5 separate regions of the Homo sapiens genome follow, and all the other regions are linked to region 4. The links are contacts of gene promoters, found by promoter capture Hi-C in blood cells and fetal thymus (Javierre and others, 2016). All regions are on one chromosome and are shown on one strand. The core of a region is centred on a gene start or on the middle of the fragment in contact, and the rest is flanking DNA. Distances in the headings are between cores, read along the strand shown. Region 1 holds the start of SNX22 (sorting nexin 22). Region 2 holds the start of RAB11A (RAB11A, member RAS oncogene family). Region 3 holds the start of ZNF609 (zinc finger protein 609). Region 4 holds the start of PDCD7 (programmed cell death 7). Region 5 holds the start of DENND4A (DENN domain containing 4A).

Evidence for each region. Contacts are between HindIII fragments. The CHiCAGO score rates a contact against its expected background, and 5 or more counts as called.
Region 1: the fragment with the promoter of SNX22 here is called in contact with the fragment with the promoter of PDCD7 in region 4 in 10 of 17 cell types (total CD8 T cells, naive CD8 T cells, naive CD4 T cells and 7 more); the score reaches 12.0 in total CD8 T cells.
Region 2: a contact is called between the fragment with the promoter of RAB11A here and the fragment with the promoter of PDCD7 in region 4, in 2 of 17 cell types (fetal thymus and total B cells). The highest score is 8.2, in fetal thymus.
Region 3: the fragment with the promoter of ZNF609 here is called in contact with the fragment with the promoter of PDCD7 in region 4 in 1 of 17 cell types (neutrophils); the score reaches 5.4 in neutrophils.
Region 5: a contact is called between the fragment with the promoter of DENND4A here and the fragment with the promoter of PDCD7 in region 4, in 1 of 17 cell types (fetal thymus). The highest score is 8.7, in fetal thymus.

The regions. Positions count from the first base shown.
Region 1 is chr15:64,150,298-64,152,997 of GRCh38, forward strand. It overlaps SNX22 (sorting nexin 22), which reads left to right and starts at 1,434. Exons shown (of 7, transcript NM_024798.3): 1 at 1,434-1,553; 2 at 1,946-2,029; 3 at 2,341-2,445. The coding sequence starts at 1,479. RefSeq lists an enhancer at 93-202 and silencers at 1,120-1,559, 1,760-2,139. The HindIII fragment of the contact is 12,291 bases long and covers 1-2,700 here.
Region 2 is chr15:65,868,222-65,870,921 of GRCh38, forward strand. It overlaps RAB11A (RAB11A, member RAS oncogene family), which reads left to right and starts at 1,270. Exons shown (of 5, transcript NM_004663.5): 1 at 1,270-1,404. The coding sequence starts at 1,365. TRQ-CTG1-4 (tRNA-Gln (anticodon CTG) 1-4) reads right to left here and starts at 912; the gene lies at 841-912. RefSeq lists an enhancer at 1,084-1,143. The HindIII fragment of the contact is 828 bases long and covers 1,120-1,947 here.
Region 3 is chr15:64,459,187-64,461,886 of GRCh38, forward strand. ZNF609 (zinc finger protein 609) reads left to right here and starts at 1,392. Exons shown (of 10, transcript NM_015042.2): 1 at 1,392-1,652. LOC105370861 (a long non-coding RNA gene) reads right to left here and starts at 1,401. Exons shown (of 3, transcript XR_932367.3): 1 at 1,313-1,401. RefSeq lists an enhancer at 914-983 and silencers at 1,444-1,563, 1,624-1,723. The HindIII fragment of the contact is 12,937 bases long and covers 1-2,700 here.
Region 4 is chr15:65,132,478-65,135,177 of GRCh38, forward strand. It overlaps PDCD7 (programmed cell death 7), which reads right to left and starts at 1,331. Exons shown (of 5, transcript NM_005707.2): 1 at 435-1,331. The coding sequence starts at 1,304. RefSeq lists silencers at 557-956, 1,017-1,226 and an enhancer at 1,517-1,616. The HindIII fragment of the contact is 3,462 bases long and covers 1-2,083 here.
Region 5 is chr15:65,791,021-65,793,720 of GRCh38, forward strand. It overlaps DENND4A (DENN domain containing 4A), which reads right to left and starts at 1,273. Exons shown (of 33, transcript NM_001320835.1): 1 at 990-1,273. It overlaps LOC105370866 (a long non-coding RNA gene), which reads left to right and starts at 1,453. Exons shown (of 3, transcript XR_932372.2): 1 at 1,453-1,752. RefSeq lists a silencer at 830-1,159 and enhancers at 1,161-2,126, 1,350-1,969. The HindIII fragment of the contact is 1,569 bases long and covers 345-1,913 here.

The DNA.
Region 1 (2,700 bases), core at 184-2,683, 980 kb before region 4:
ACTCTGCTTCCTCCTGCCCACCCCAAGACCTCCCACTACGTATGAGCTTTGGAAGGCAGGGCCTCGCCTCTCTGCATGTCACGGGGCCTTTGTGGGGGAAGTCAGTGGAGTAGAGGACCTGCCATGGTGCTGCTGATAGCAGCTCTCCGACAGCTGAAGGGTGCAGGGCTGAGAGGTGGGAGCAGAGGTCCTTTCCAGCACATGGCCTGAGAGAGTTCTGGATCAAAATCCTGCCACATATCCAGGAAGAACCTGCCCGGAGGGGTGGACAAGAGCAACCCGGTGCCACCCCCCAAAGTCTCTCTTCCCATCCACTGCCCTGTGCCCACTTATCCTAGTCATCCAGGAGAAGCCCACAGTCAAGCTGCTGCTCAATGCTTCTGTTAAGGGCCTAACATGAATCATCTCACTTTTTTTTTTTTTTAAGACAGAGTCTTGCTGTTGCCCAGTCTGGAGTGCAATGGTTTGATCTCGGCTCACTGCAACCTCCGCCTCTCAGGTTCAAGTGATTCTCCCGCCTCAGCCTCCTGAGTAGCTGGGATTACAGGCATGTGCCACCACACCTGGTTGATTTTTGTATTTTTAGTAGGTACGGGGTTTCACCATGTTGGTCAGGCTGGTCTCGAACTCCTGACCTCAGGTGATCCGCCTACCTCGGCCTCCCAAAGTGCTGGGATTACAGGCGTGAGCCACCGCGCCCGGCCAAATCATCTCACTTTATACACTTGCCTGAAGGAGCCACGTTATCCCTATTTTGCAGATGAGCAAAGGTCTACGGAGCTCCTGAAATCCAGGCAGTCTGACGTCCAAATCGGAGTCTAGGTCCCTAAACTGCCTCTTCCCCACAAACAGCCTGGAGCCCCTTAGGGTTGGAAGATATGAGTGAATGGATGGATGAAAACAATGAATGAATGGGGGGGCCTGTGGATGCTGGGGAAAGGGGCATCAAAGCTGGACTGGGTCCAAGCCTTGCTCAGGTGTGGCCTCAGCCGGGGAATCCAGATCACAATTTCAGGGACCAGGCTGAAAGGAGGGAAAGGCTCGGGAAGGGACTGAGGAACCCAAGACAGGTCCCTGGTTGGCCCCAGGACCGGCGCTGAGGCCCGGGCCCCGCCTCCGTCCGCGCCTGGAGCCACAGGCCGTCCTTGGTAGGCGCTTAACTCAGGTTGGGTGACATTTTCGCTCGCCAGTTCCTGGCATCAGTGAGTGCTCCGTCAATGTTTGACAAACGGTTGACTCCACTGCCCCGCGCTGTGGGCGCACTAGACTTCGGGGGCGGCGTCCAGGTCCCGCCTAATCTTCTAGGCTCAGGACCCGCGGCGCAAGGGAACGCCCGGGGCGGGGTCGCCTGGGGGCGGGGCCTGGGGTGGGGCCTGCGGACCGAGGGGGCGGAGCCGGCCGCCCCGGGGTCCTCAGTCCGCTCCGGGAGAGTTAGGGCTCCGAGCCGAGCGCGCGGAGCAGCTGGGGCCGGGGCGCGGATGCTGGAAGTTCACATCCCGTCGGTGGGGCCCGAGGCCGAGGGGCCCAGGCAGAGCCCGGAGAAAAGCCACATGGTGAGCGCGGCCCCTGGATGGGGAGGGGCGCCGGGACCCGCAGGATTTCCCCGCGCTGCGCTCAGTGGGGACCCGGGGCCCGGGCCTGGGTGAACGAGCGCTGCGGGCTGGACCGTCGGGGGAAACCTTGTCGAGGGTTTGGGGGCCGCTTGGATTTGCCAGCCTCGCGGACCATGGTTCGAGCTCTTGAGGGACCCCAGGGCTCCGAGGGGCAGGTCCGCCAGCCGGTTCTCCCAGGTGTGCGGGAGCGGAGAGTCCCCGGGCAGCCGCGGCGCCGCAAGGCCGCTTTGTGCCTTTGAGAGCGGGAGGGTGGGCACGTCGCCAGGCGCAGGTGCTGCGGCGTCCTCCCGCGGGGCCTCACGCGCAGACCCGCTGCCCGCCCGCGCCGCCAGGTGTTCCGAGTGGAGGTGCTGTGCAGCGGGCGCAGACACACGGTGCCAAGGCGCTACAGCGAGTTCCACGCGCTGCACAAGCGGGTGAGGCGGCGCCGACCTCCCACCGGCCCCGGCCCAGCCTCTGTCCAGCCCCCGCCCAGGCCCTGTGAGGCGGGCGGGCGAGCCCCAGCCTCCGCCACCCCCATTACTGCCTCAGTCCCTGCGCAGCCGGTCAGCCCCCGGGCCTCTGTGGGTGGGTTGGGGCCTTCCTCGCCCTCGGCCGGTCCACCACTCACCAGGGTCTGTCCCAGTAGAGCCCGAAGGCGGGGGCGCGGGAGGGCTTCTGGCTGGGGCGAAGAGGGCTTGAGGGCTCAGTCGGGATGCTGTGATCGCACGCGGTAAACCTCCAGTAGATCAAGAAGCTGTACAAAGTGCCCGACTTCCCCTCGAAACGCCTGCCCAACTGGAGGACCAGAGGGTTGGAACAGCGCCGGCAGGGCTTGGAGGCTTACATCCAGGTATGCGAGAGCACAGTTGGTTGCCCCCCGGCCTTCTGTGCCAGGGGTGTGGCCCAGACAGAGAGGTGTGGGGGCATGGCAGGGAGGGAACCCACAACTTGGGGATGTTATTCACCACCTCAAGCATCAATTTTCTGAGTCTAATATAGGTCCAAACACCCCCCTCTGGCTTGTTGAAAGGACTGAAAGAGGTAACGGACACAGGTAGTCCCAGCTCCATGAAACCCAGGTCCTGTCCCCTCCATGGTGAGGTCC
Region 2 (2,700 bases), core at 20-2,519, 740 kb after region 4:
TGACAACACTGGGCCCACCCAACTAATCCAGGATAATATCCCTAATTTAATGTCAGCTGATAAGCAACCTTAATTTCATCTGTAACCTCAATTCCCCTTTGCCATGTAACCTAACCTATTCAGTCTCCAGGAATTGGGAAGTGGACATCATTGGCAGGGGGCATTATTCTGCTTGTTATAGGCATACTTGCCCACAAGTCTAAATCGAGAGTTTGCATATAGGAGGTAGGAGGTGTGACAATAATTGGATAAAGGCTTTTCTGGAATGACAAAATTCTCTTCAAATACAGGGAGGCCCTGCGACATGATATCTGGCAAATCACTTGAGTCTTAGTATCCAAACTTCCGCTAAAATGGAAATTACCATCCTTTGCTTGGCATGTTAAATGAAATACTTATGTAAACGGACTTAGATTAGAGGCCTACAAATAGGACTCAAGTTCTTGATGAATCTTGATGAGGAGGGTGGGCGAAGTACTCTAAATGAAAATGAGATAGATTGCGAGATTTCCGGAGAGGAGTGAGTGACAAGCGCCTACCCGTGCATGAAGCTGGAGGTAGAAAATTCCAGCAAAAGGAATTTTCAAGTTTCACTGAAGCTTTTGAATCAAGGCTTGAAAGCCCAGGGTTAAAAAAAAGGCAGTGAAGAAGCTCATTAAGACAACCCCCCGCCAGGTAGCAGATAGCACCTGAAATGCAGTGGGAAATTTGTGAGGTCTTCATAGGCAAGGATTAAATTTTACATCTCCATCTTAAGATGTGTCATAGTTGTTCAATTACTTAGTGACCAAAAAAGTGAATTAAAGATGTTGTCAAGATTAAAAAAACAAAAACCAATGCAGGTTCCACCGAGATTTGAACTCGGATCGCTGGATTCAGAGTCCAGAGTGCTAACCATTACACCATGGAACCGCCACGCATGTGTAGCTGCCTTCGGCTGTCTAATCCTCAGAGAACCCCGCCCCCATCCACAAACCCACCACTCACAGGCGGTCCCGCCTGGTTCCAGCGAGCCGCTTCCGGCACGGTAGCTCGAGAAATGAGCAAGCGGCCACTAAGACTATGGTAGCTAGGAGTTCCAGGACTCAGTTTCCCCTTTGAGCCTCCTTTAGCGACTAAAGCTTGAAGCCCCACGCATCTCGACTCTCGCGCACACCGCCCTTGTTGGGCTCAGGGGCGGGGCGCCGCCCCCGGAAGTACTTCCCCTTAAAGGCTGGGGCCTGCCGGAAATGGCGCAGCGGCAGGGAGGGGCTCTTCACCCAGTCCGGCAGTTGAAGCTCGGCGCTCGGGTTACCCCTGCAGCGACGCCCCCTGGTCCCACAGATACCACTGCTGCTCCCGCCCTTTCGCTCCTCGGCCGCGCAATGGGCACCCGCGACGACGAGTACGACTACCTCTTTAAAGGTGAGGCCATGGGCTCTCGCACTCTACACAGTCCTCGTTCGGGGACCCGGGCCACTCCCGGTGGACCCTCGTGCCGGCCACCCCTGCACTGATATAGGCCTCCCTCAGCCCTTCCTTTTTGTGCGGTTCCGTCTCCTACCCAGCTCAGCCTCTTCTCCCCCGCTCAGACAGGGGTCCCCATCACATGCCGCTCTCTGAGCGACCTCTCCATAGGCCTTCGCTGGCCTCAGAGCCCCTCCCTGCGTGTCCTTCCCCTGGCGGACTGCCTTCTCCCACATCGTCGAATTCCTTTCCCCGGGTTCTACGGCCCCGCCGCTCCTCCCACCATCTCTCTTTTCGGGTGTAGCGCCCCCTCCCCCTCGGCGTACACCCTTCCCAGCTCGCGTCCTCTCCCGAAGCCCCTCTGACGGGTTCTTCGCTTCCCTCTTGGCCTTGCCTTCGGTGCAGACTCCCATTACAGGTCTTTTTCTTATCTGCCCTCTTTCCCCCCTCGAGCGAGCGTCTCTTCTGTATCTCCCCTCCACTTGGACGGCCGCCCCTCTAAGCTTCTCCCATCCCGGGTCCAGGACCCCGTAAAATCTGAGCGGGCCAAGGGCCTCCGCCCCCACCCTCCGCCCCGCGGTTCTCGCGGTCCTTAACCTTCTCTGACCGCTCCCTCTCCCACTCCCCATTTGGCAACTCTCTCTACCTTCCCTCCCCAAATCGTGTTTAGAGCTCCCTTGTCTCCGTTGCGACCTGGGTGGTGGGAGGGAGGGTAAGAGGGATCGCCCATCACCCACTCGCGCACTTGTCGCAGTGACCCGGCAGGCTGACATTACTTCCCACCTAGCCTTTTCTTTTCTTGCCCTCCCTACTCAGTGGCACCCAACCCGGGATAACTCTTTACTCGGTTCGCGAGATGAGGTTGCGGATGGGTGGTGGCTGTTATCCTTGCCAGACCTGAAGGCCTGGTTCCTGAGCAGGAAAGGTTGTGCGCTGCACAAATACTAGCTTGCTTTATCTCTATGAACTGGTTGCTTCCTGCTGCAACGCTGGGAGGATCCAACAGGAAGGGAAGAGCCCTAGTTAGCCACATACCTTTCCCAAAAGGTTGGGGGTGGGAGGAAGTTGTGTGCTCTTTTGGTTACATTAAATATTTATTATAAGATACGGAAACATGTAGTGCCCTTGGACAGAACATATTGGAGGGTCAGGGTTGGTTAGAAAGAATTGCTTATTGGTTGAGTCCGGAAGGAATCCGGTTTTTTTTTTTAATCAACGAAGATAAAGGGTACATTTTTCAATGAGAAGAGAGTA
Region 3 (2,700 bases), core at 142-2,641, 670 kb before region 4:
AAACTTGGAGTTCACTGCAGGAATGTTTACCTTCCTTTGTTCCCTATTTTTGCAGTCTAGTTCTCTCCAATGGCAGAGTCATGCTCCTTCAGTGGGAGATGACTACTGGAATGTTTAATCCTTAATTAAATCATGCCTAAGTCTAAAACACTAAACCCTTCTCTGTCTCCACCTGCTAAGTAGCTGAATCCTCACTTGTAACTTTGTCTAGTATACATTGGAAGTTCGCTGTCACCTGGGATCAGTTCTGCCCCTGTACTGTCTAACAACATGACTATTGGTGGACCAAAGAGAGATTATTTTTCCTAGACCAGAAAGGTTTACTTTTATCTTTAGCTATCAACCCCTCCCCCCACCTTTTTATGACCTCACTTTATCTCCAAGTCACATGCTATCTTGAGTGGCACTGTTGAAGGATGCCCCAGGATAAGGGAAAAAAGGTAAGATAAATGCAAAGCAAAATAAAATGGTCAAGGACACAGGAAGGACATAATAGGGGCTAGGATGTGGGAGGCCTTGAGAATTAAGGTAAATTTGTTTGCTATGGAATGAGATGGAAGTCTTAGGAGGTCGTCATGAATAGATGTTTCACAAGTGAAAGCTGGGTGGGAGGGCTCACTTAAACATGGACTGAATGCCTACTGTGCACTAGATAGTATGCTGGGCAATCAGAGATGAATAGCAGATAAGGAAAAATAAAAGCTACAATCCTTAGAATGGTGGGTTGGAGAAGGACAGAATAAGGTTTTTAGATAATAAAAGGCAACAAGATTTAGTGATAGAGGATGGTGAGGGGAAAAGGGATATATAGAGGGATTAGAAATGGGTGCTTTGGGGAGAAAAGCAAGTGGTAATCCTAAAAGAGAAAGCTGGAGAACAAAGGATAAAAAATTAGGAGGTTGGTACTTTGCTGAACTAAGGGGTAAAATGGATGAAACCATCAGGAGCTGTGATTGCTCTTCTGTTCTTTGTGGATGCCCATGTTCAGATCCCCTACGGCCCTTTCCTCTCTGTGGTTGAAGGACAACTACAGAAGAGGTGTCTTCTGTGTTATAAGGTGCAATACTCCCCCCAGAGACCTCTCTATGAGGAAGTCTGATCCAGCGAGAGTTCTACTGCCCACGAGGGGACAGCGTTAGGTTCGAGCTCTCTAATCCAGGTTTCTTTGAGTTTATCTTGGTTCTAACCGGCACGCCGGGTTTTCCAGCATTCCCTGAGCTAAGACTCCCTAATCTGGGCTCCGGGTGAGCGCGCATTCCGAGACCCAGGATTTCGCTCCTTCATCCAGGTTCCGGGTTTCCCCTGCGCTCACCGGCTCCAGACTCCACACAAGCGCGGAATCCGGATCCGAGGGCCTGGCAGTCCAGTGTCCGCGTCTTCCGGGTGACTCTGGTTGTCCCGGATCGCGGCGGCGGCGGCGGTGGCGGCGGCTGAGGGACCCGCGGCCCCGGACACAGCGGCACCGGCCGGGCGGGGCGGAGAGGCGCGGGGAGGGGGCAGAGAGCCAGAGCCGGAGCCGGAGCCGGAGCCGGGGTGGGGTGGGGGGGAGGGGCCGCGGGAACGGATGGCGGCCTGGGCCCCGTAGCAGCGGCGGCTCTACGGCCCGGGGCCCCGGGCGGGCGGAGGTGGCGGCTCCCGGGACCGGCCGCGCGGTGAGTCCGGAGCTTTGTGTGGAGCCGGGACTGGGGGAGGAAAGAGGCGGCGGCACCGATGGGGCGCGGGGCTGAGGGGATCTGATGGGGGCCGGGGGCGGCGGCGCTGCCTGACGGAGGAAGTGGGGGTTGGGGGGGCTGGGGCGGAGCGAGGGGAAGGTGTGTAGGGGGGGTCGTTGCGTGGGTGGGGGAGGGGGCGTCGAGGGGCGCGGGGTGAAGTTCAAAGCGTGGCCACGGCCGGTTCAGGCTGAGGGTAGGGGTGCCCGGGAGGGGATTAGGGTCTGGCTAGGTTATGGGAGCAGGCCAGAGAGTTTCTGAGGCGAGTCTGGGTATGTTGAGGGCGCTCGGGGCGACTGGGGCCAGTCAGGGAGTTGGCGGGGGAGGGGGGGCGGGGGCGGTGGTGGTTGTTCAGAGCATAGGGTCGGAAGCAGGACGTGTGCGTGACCTAGGAGTGGGGAGCAAGGTGGCTGGGATCCTGCAGTAAGTAGGTTGTGGGTGTGTGCCCCTAACAGTCTTCAGGTCACATTTACTCCTGTCCTTTTCTTCAAGATGGAGGGATCCCTGGGCCTGGACCTCAACTGCTATCCTTGTACCCCCGGGAGGGTTTGTGACCCTATCCTGTTTGGAAAACCCATGCTGCCCTCTTTTCCCTTTATGTGTAATTACGGTTGGATCATCTCTGTGCTTTGCTCAGATTCTCCTTCCTCCCTCTGGGGTTGAGGAGGAGGAGACACATCTGACCAATTAATGTGTGTTTGTGAAACAGGCAGCAGCAAACAGTCATTTCAGCTTCGAGGAATTAGGCTCACACAGGGTGGAGAGATCAGAGCCCTTCAGGGGGAATATTTCTGAACAAATCACGGATGATTAAATTCTCTAAGAAACAGCTCCCTACCTAAATGAGAGTGAGAAAGATAGGGAAGAAAGCCTGTCTGTTTCCAGCCATGTGTCCAGAGCCTAAGGGGTTGAGGAGAGTCCCCAAGCCCCTACAGGCCTCCCTTTTCTGTATTAGGCTTTGCTCTGCAGCCTTGAGTTAATTTCACCCCTG
Region 4 (2,700 bases), core at 81-2,580:
CTGACCTCGTGATCCACCCGCCTCCGCCTCCCAAAGTGCTGGGATTACAGGCGTGGGCCACCGCGCCCGGCCTGTATTTTGTATTCTTAAAACCACCTAGGGCAGTACAAGACACAAGGAACTAGACACTTACTGGTTTTGAGAGTAAGTGGACAATGTTGGAGCAGGATAGGGGAGACCTGTCATTCGTGCAGTGCCACCGTGTAATCCTATACTTTGTGTTTACAGGATTTTACAGTGCACCTGGAACTTTTGTGTACCACACATCATTAACACAAAATTAACATGGTGGTATGAGCTGGGAAGGTTAGCTATCGCTTCATTTTGCGCGTAAAACAGAGGCTTAGCCCTGGGAAATGGAAGTTTAAAGCCTCCTGCTGCTCCAGGTTCCAACCACCACCACTCCTACCCCCATGAGCGGCCGCTGCTCTCACCCGCTTCTTCTCCTCCACCTCCTGCACACACTTCACCCTCCAGCGGTCAATCTCCTGCTCGCGTTCCACTGCCCGCGCGGCCTCTGCCTCCCGCTCGGCCTCGCGTTCCCGGGCCCTCTCGCGAAGCCGCAGCCGGCGGCGCCGGACCCTCTCCAGCCTCCTCCGCGCCTCGCCCACATAGGCAGCCTGGGTCAACGGCTGTAGCCGCTCGGCCAGTTCCGCGCGCAGCGGCGCGGTCTGGGAGTACAGCAGGACCCAGGCCGCGCCGTCGGCTTCGGCCTCGCGCAGGGCCTGGCTCAGGCCGCGCAGCCGCCGCACCAGGCGCAGAGCCCGGAGCAATCGCGCGCGCACTTCGCCAAGGCTGGGCCCGGCATGCGTGCGCTGGGGCACCGGACAGCCTGCCCGCCGCGGGGTCCCGAACACCGCCTCCAGCCACTGCCGGTCGCGCAGGCGTTGGAGGGCCGCATCCCCGAGCACGTCGGCCGGCGGCGGCGGCGCCTCAGGCCACCGCGGGCTCCAGGGCGGCCCCGGGCCGGGAGGCGGTGGCCGCGGCCGCTCGCCGGCGTCGGTCCCCGGGAAGGGCCGACACTGGGGCGGCGGAGGAGGCAGCGGCGGTGGTGGCACCGGGTAGAAGGCGCCAGCGCCGCCTCCGCCGCGGGAGGCCTCCGCGGAGGCTCGGGGCTGCAGAGCCAGCGGAGGCTGAAGGAAGGGGGCGGAGGCCCCCGGAAAAGGGCCGGGCCGCTGGGGGAGAGGCGGCGGGAAAGCCGGGGAGGGCAGCGGCGGTGGCGGACAGCCGAAAGGAGCAGGAGGCGGCGGCTGCGGGGGCGGTGGGCCTGGGCGACCCTGGCCGAAGAATGGTGGCAGGGCCATGTTCACGACGGAGATGCTTTGAGAAGTGACAGGAATCTGAGTGGCTCCTCATGAGAACCTTCCGACGGAAGTGACGTCGTTACGACGCGCGACCCCTGTAGACTCGTCCCTCCGGAAGGCTCAGTGCATAAGTGGGCAGTCGTTCAACCTTCTGTCGTTCAGTTCATAAATACCGTTCTTATTGAGCATCCTAGGTGCAGAGCTACCCACTCCGCATACAGTGAGACTGAGAGATACAGAGCTTCTCTTCGTGGAACTATCTGCCTAGTATAACACACTAATCAATTAATCATGGTGAGTATCTTCGAGAAGTTGGAGAAGGTTATCCTAAGAAACTGCGGCTGCAGCTGAGATCTGGAAGATAAATAGTTAAATAGAAAAAGAGAGGGAAGCACAGTGCAGATGAGAACATGTGCAAAGGCCCTAGTAAATAGGAGTGTGACCAACTACCCATTTTCTTAGAAAAATGAATTATTTTTACTTTTCTCCTTTCACCCCACCTCCTATTTAGCTCTTTAGGAATGCAATTATAGGGTGGGTGCTGTGGCTCACGTCTGTAATCCCAGCACTTTGGGAGGCCGAGGCAGGCGAGATCGGCCTGTAGTCCCAGCCATTGGGGAGGCTGAGGTGGGAGGATCACCTGAGCCCTGGGAGGTAAAGACTGCAATGAGCCACGATAACGCCACTGCACTCCACCCTGGGCGACAGAATGACACCTGTCAAAAAAAAAAATCCAATTAACCTTTACCTTCTCTCCACCAGACACTCTCTACACTGTAAGCTTATCTAATTATGTGTTCGCTTATTAGTTCCAAGGACCGAAGCTTAAACCAGGGACCTCTGGAACTTTCCCATACCAGGGGATTGCCTGGGGACAACTGTCAATTTACAACCTAGCTCCCCGCTACCCCCCACCCCCCCTCCGCCTTCGCCCCAGCCTCCATGGCGCCAACCAGATCACTGATGGATACATAGGAGCAAGTCCCATAGACCCAGCACCTCCTTGGTCCCTCCCCACCCCTTGCATGCCATCCAGGTCAACCAAGTCCCGTGCACCCCCCACTTTTTTTGAGACAGAGTCCCTCTGTCACCCAGGCTGGAGTGCAATGACGCACTCTCCACTCACTGCAACCACTGCATCCCAGGTTCCAGTTATTCTTGGTGCCTCAGCCTCCCTAGTCAGTTGCTGGGATTATAGACCCCTGCTGCCACGCCTGGCTAATTTTTGTGTTTTTAGTAGAGAGGGGGTTTCACAATGCTGGCTAGGCTGGTCGTAAACTCCTTACATCAGGTGATCCGTCCACCTTGGCCTCCCAAAGTGCTGGGGTTACAGGTGTGAGCCACCACACCTGGCCACTTTCTTTCTTTTTTTTTTTTTATGAGACAGAGTCTCCCT
Region 5 (2,700 bases), core at 23-2,522, 660 kb after region 4:
CTAAGACTTCTTTTACATTCGGGCTATTCTTTTCATTAACGTATAATACATTTTAAAGAATAACATATTCACAGAGTAATACAATTTCTGCCCTCACGGGTCTCTAGCTGGCTGACACGCGTTTTCTCCTCAAATAAATACATGCCTGTTGACTGATGCCTGTCCTGCTGTTGCAAACAAGAAATAACTGTCCTATAAGACAAAAACCTCTCTCTACGGTTCTAGGCGTAACCATACGTTTGAATTAAAAGCACATTGGAACAACAACAACAATCTTCCAGCACATCTGTCATTTAAAAGCACGATAATGAAAAGCTGTCGCTGCGACCCAATTTTAGGTCACAAGCTTTTTACTGTTTTTCCTGCCCCCCACCTCCAGAAAACAATAAACTTCAAAGGGAATGGTGGTAACCAGGAACAGTTCCCTTCCCCCACCACACACCCCCCCAAAAAGACTAGAAAAAAAACTGGTCAACTTGGACGCTGGCCGCGCTCACGCAGAACCCGTGCCCGCGGGCCGGGGAAGGCTGAACAGACCCTGGGAGGAAAAGTGGGCCTGCAGGCACCCCGGGCTCCCCCCGCCGCCTGTCTCAGATACCGAGCAGGTGGGATTCCGGGAAGCCACCTCCGACTTACGTAACGGGCTTGTCAAAATCCCAGATCCAGGACCTCCCCCTCCCCGCCCCCACTCCCAAATAACAACAGCCCCAGGCCAGCCTGGAATAGAAAATCTGGAATGAAAACACAGGAGCCCCCCACGCGTCCGACGCAGAGGCGCGGGTGCTACTCTCAGCACCGCCGCGCCATCCCGGGGCGGACCGAGCCGCGGAGCACCTCCCGGATCTCAGGAGCTCTCGGGCGGAGATCTCGGCCATCCGTGCCTCCTCCCCGAACCCACCCGCCCCGCTCCCGCGCCCCCGGCTGTCACCTCTCCGGGCCGTGACAGCTCCACCTGCCACCGCTGCCCGGGTCGCCGCCCCCGCACTCACCACCCAGCTGGCTCCCGTGCGAGCAGCGGATCGAGCTCGGAGAGCGGCGCCGGAATCCCGCACGCGCGGTAGCGGAACACGAGGGGCTGAATGCCGCGGCGCTCTGAGCCCGCTTAGCTCATCCCCAGCCCGGCGCTCCGCCCTTCGCGGCACCCCCGCCCGCCCGCCCAGGCCTGCCGTCTCAGTCAGACGGGACTCCCCCTCCCCTCGCGGCCGCCACTGCCTCCGCCTCTTTCTCCGACTCTAGCCTCCGCGGCCACCGCGACCGGCGCCATCTTGGCAATGACGGAAGGGGCGGGGGCGGGAATCACGCCCGCGAGCACCAATCGAAGGCCGGATCTGGCCCGAGTGGGAGGAGAGGGCCGAGTTGAGGGTCGTGGGGTCCTAGCGCCAAACTGATAATGGGGCGGTGAAGGTGGGCGGGACTAAGTCGCCTTAGTCCGTGACGTGCGGTGTAGTTGGGGAAACGCACCGTGGTTCCCCGTCGGGTCAGGAGATCCCGAGCCCCAGGCTGGCGTGGGCGAAGCGTACAATCCCTTCACCTTTCGTCACCCAGAGGCACAAGAATCCAGTTCGCGCCAACTGACCTGTTTCTTCCTTCCTCCCCGGCACTCTGGGAGTCCTGAGATTGCCTTGCTCGGTTCGTCTCAGACTTGCTAGATCTGAGCAGCTGCTGCTCCTCCACCAAGGGTGCTCACATTCTCCAGGAAACTCCCTTAAGGGTTAGCAACCGCCGAGTAGGTTTCGGTCCCAAGATAGAAAGGTAAAGCGGGGAATTCAGGGGGTTTCTCCGAAAAGTACGTTGATGAAACAGCTATTGTTGACTGACGGGGTGTCGATTACTTTGGATTAATTGGATACGGCCTACTTAAACCTGACTGTGGCTCTCCACCATTGATGGCTGTTGACAGATGAGGTTAATAAAGCTTGATTACCCCCATGGGGTTGCTCGGGAGTTAAATTCTATAGTACCTGTGAAGTACTTAGTATAGTGCTTGAAAGTACTCAATAAATGTTAGACATTATTCCATGGACAAATGAAAGAAGAAACAGGACCCCCAAAATCCCTCTGCTTTAAAGTCAACTTTTCCTAAATTGCATAGCCTTTTACTAACCAAGTTTACAACTTTATTTCCTACCTCCAGTTCTTTCATTGTATTCATTCATTCAGTCAACAAACATCCATACAGAGGGTGCACAGTGGTGAGGGAAACAGAAAACCTTTGCCTTCAGGAAACTGCAGTTTAGTGGGAGAAGAGGGACAATAAAAAAGTACTTAAGCACATTTTAAGGGGAAACATGCTATAAAGGTTAGAAAAATAACTGAGGCCAGGCGCCTTTGCTCATGCCTGTAATCCCAACGCTTAGGGAGGCCGAGGCAAGAGGGTCAGCTTGAGCTCAGAAGTTCAAGACTAGCCTGGCAAAATGGCGAGAACCCTGTCTCCACCAAAAATACAAAAAATTAGCCGGGCGTGGTGGCGTGCGCCTGTGGTCCCAGCTACTTGAGAGGCTGAGGTGGGAGGATCGCTTGAGCCCCAGAGCCGGAGGCTGCAGTGAGCCGAGATTGTGCCACTGCACTCCAGCCTGGGTGACAGAGCAAGATTTTGCTTTAAAACAAAACAAAACAATCGAGTTGCATACTTTAAATATATGTAGTCCTCTGTATGTCAGTTAAAGCTGTAAAAAAAGACTTGTTTTTGACACAGAGTCT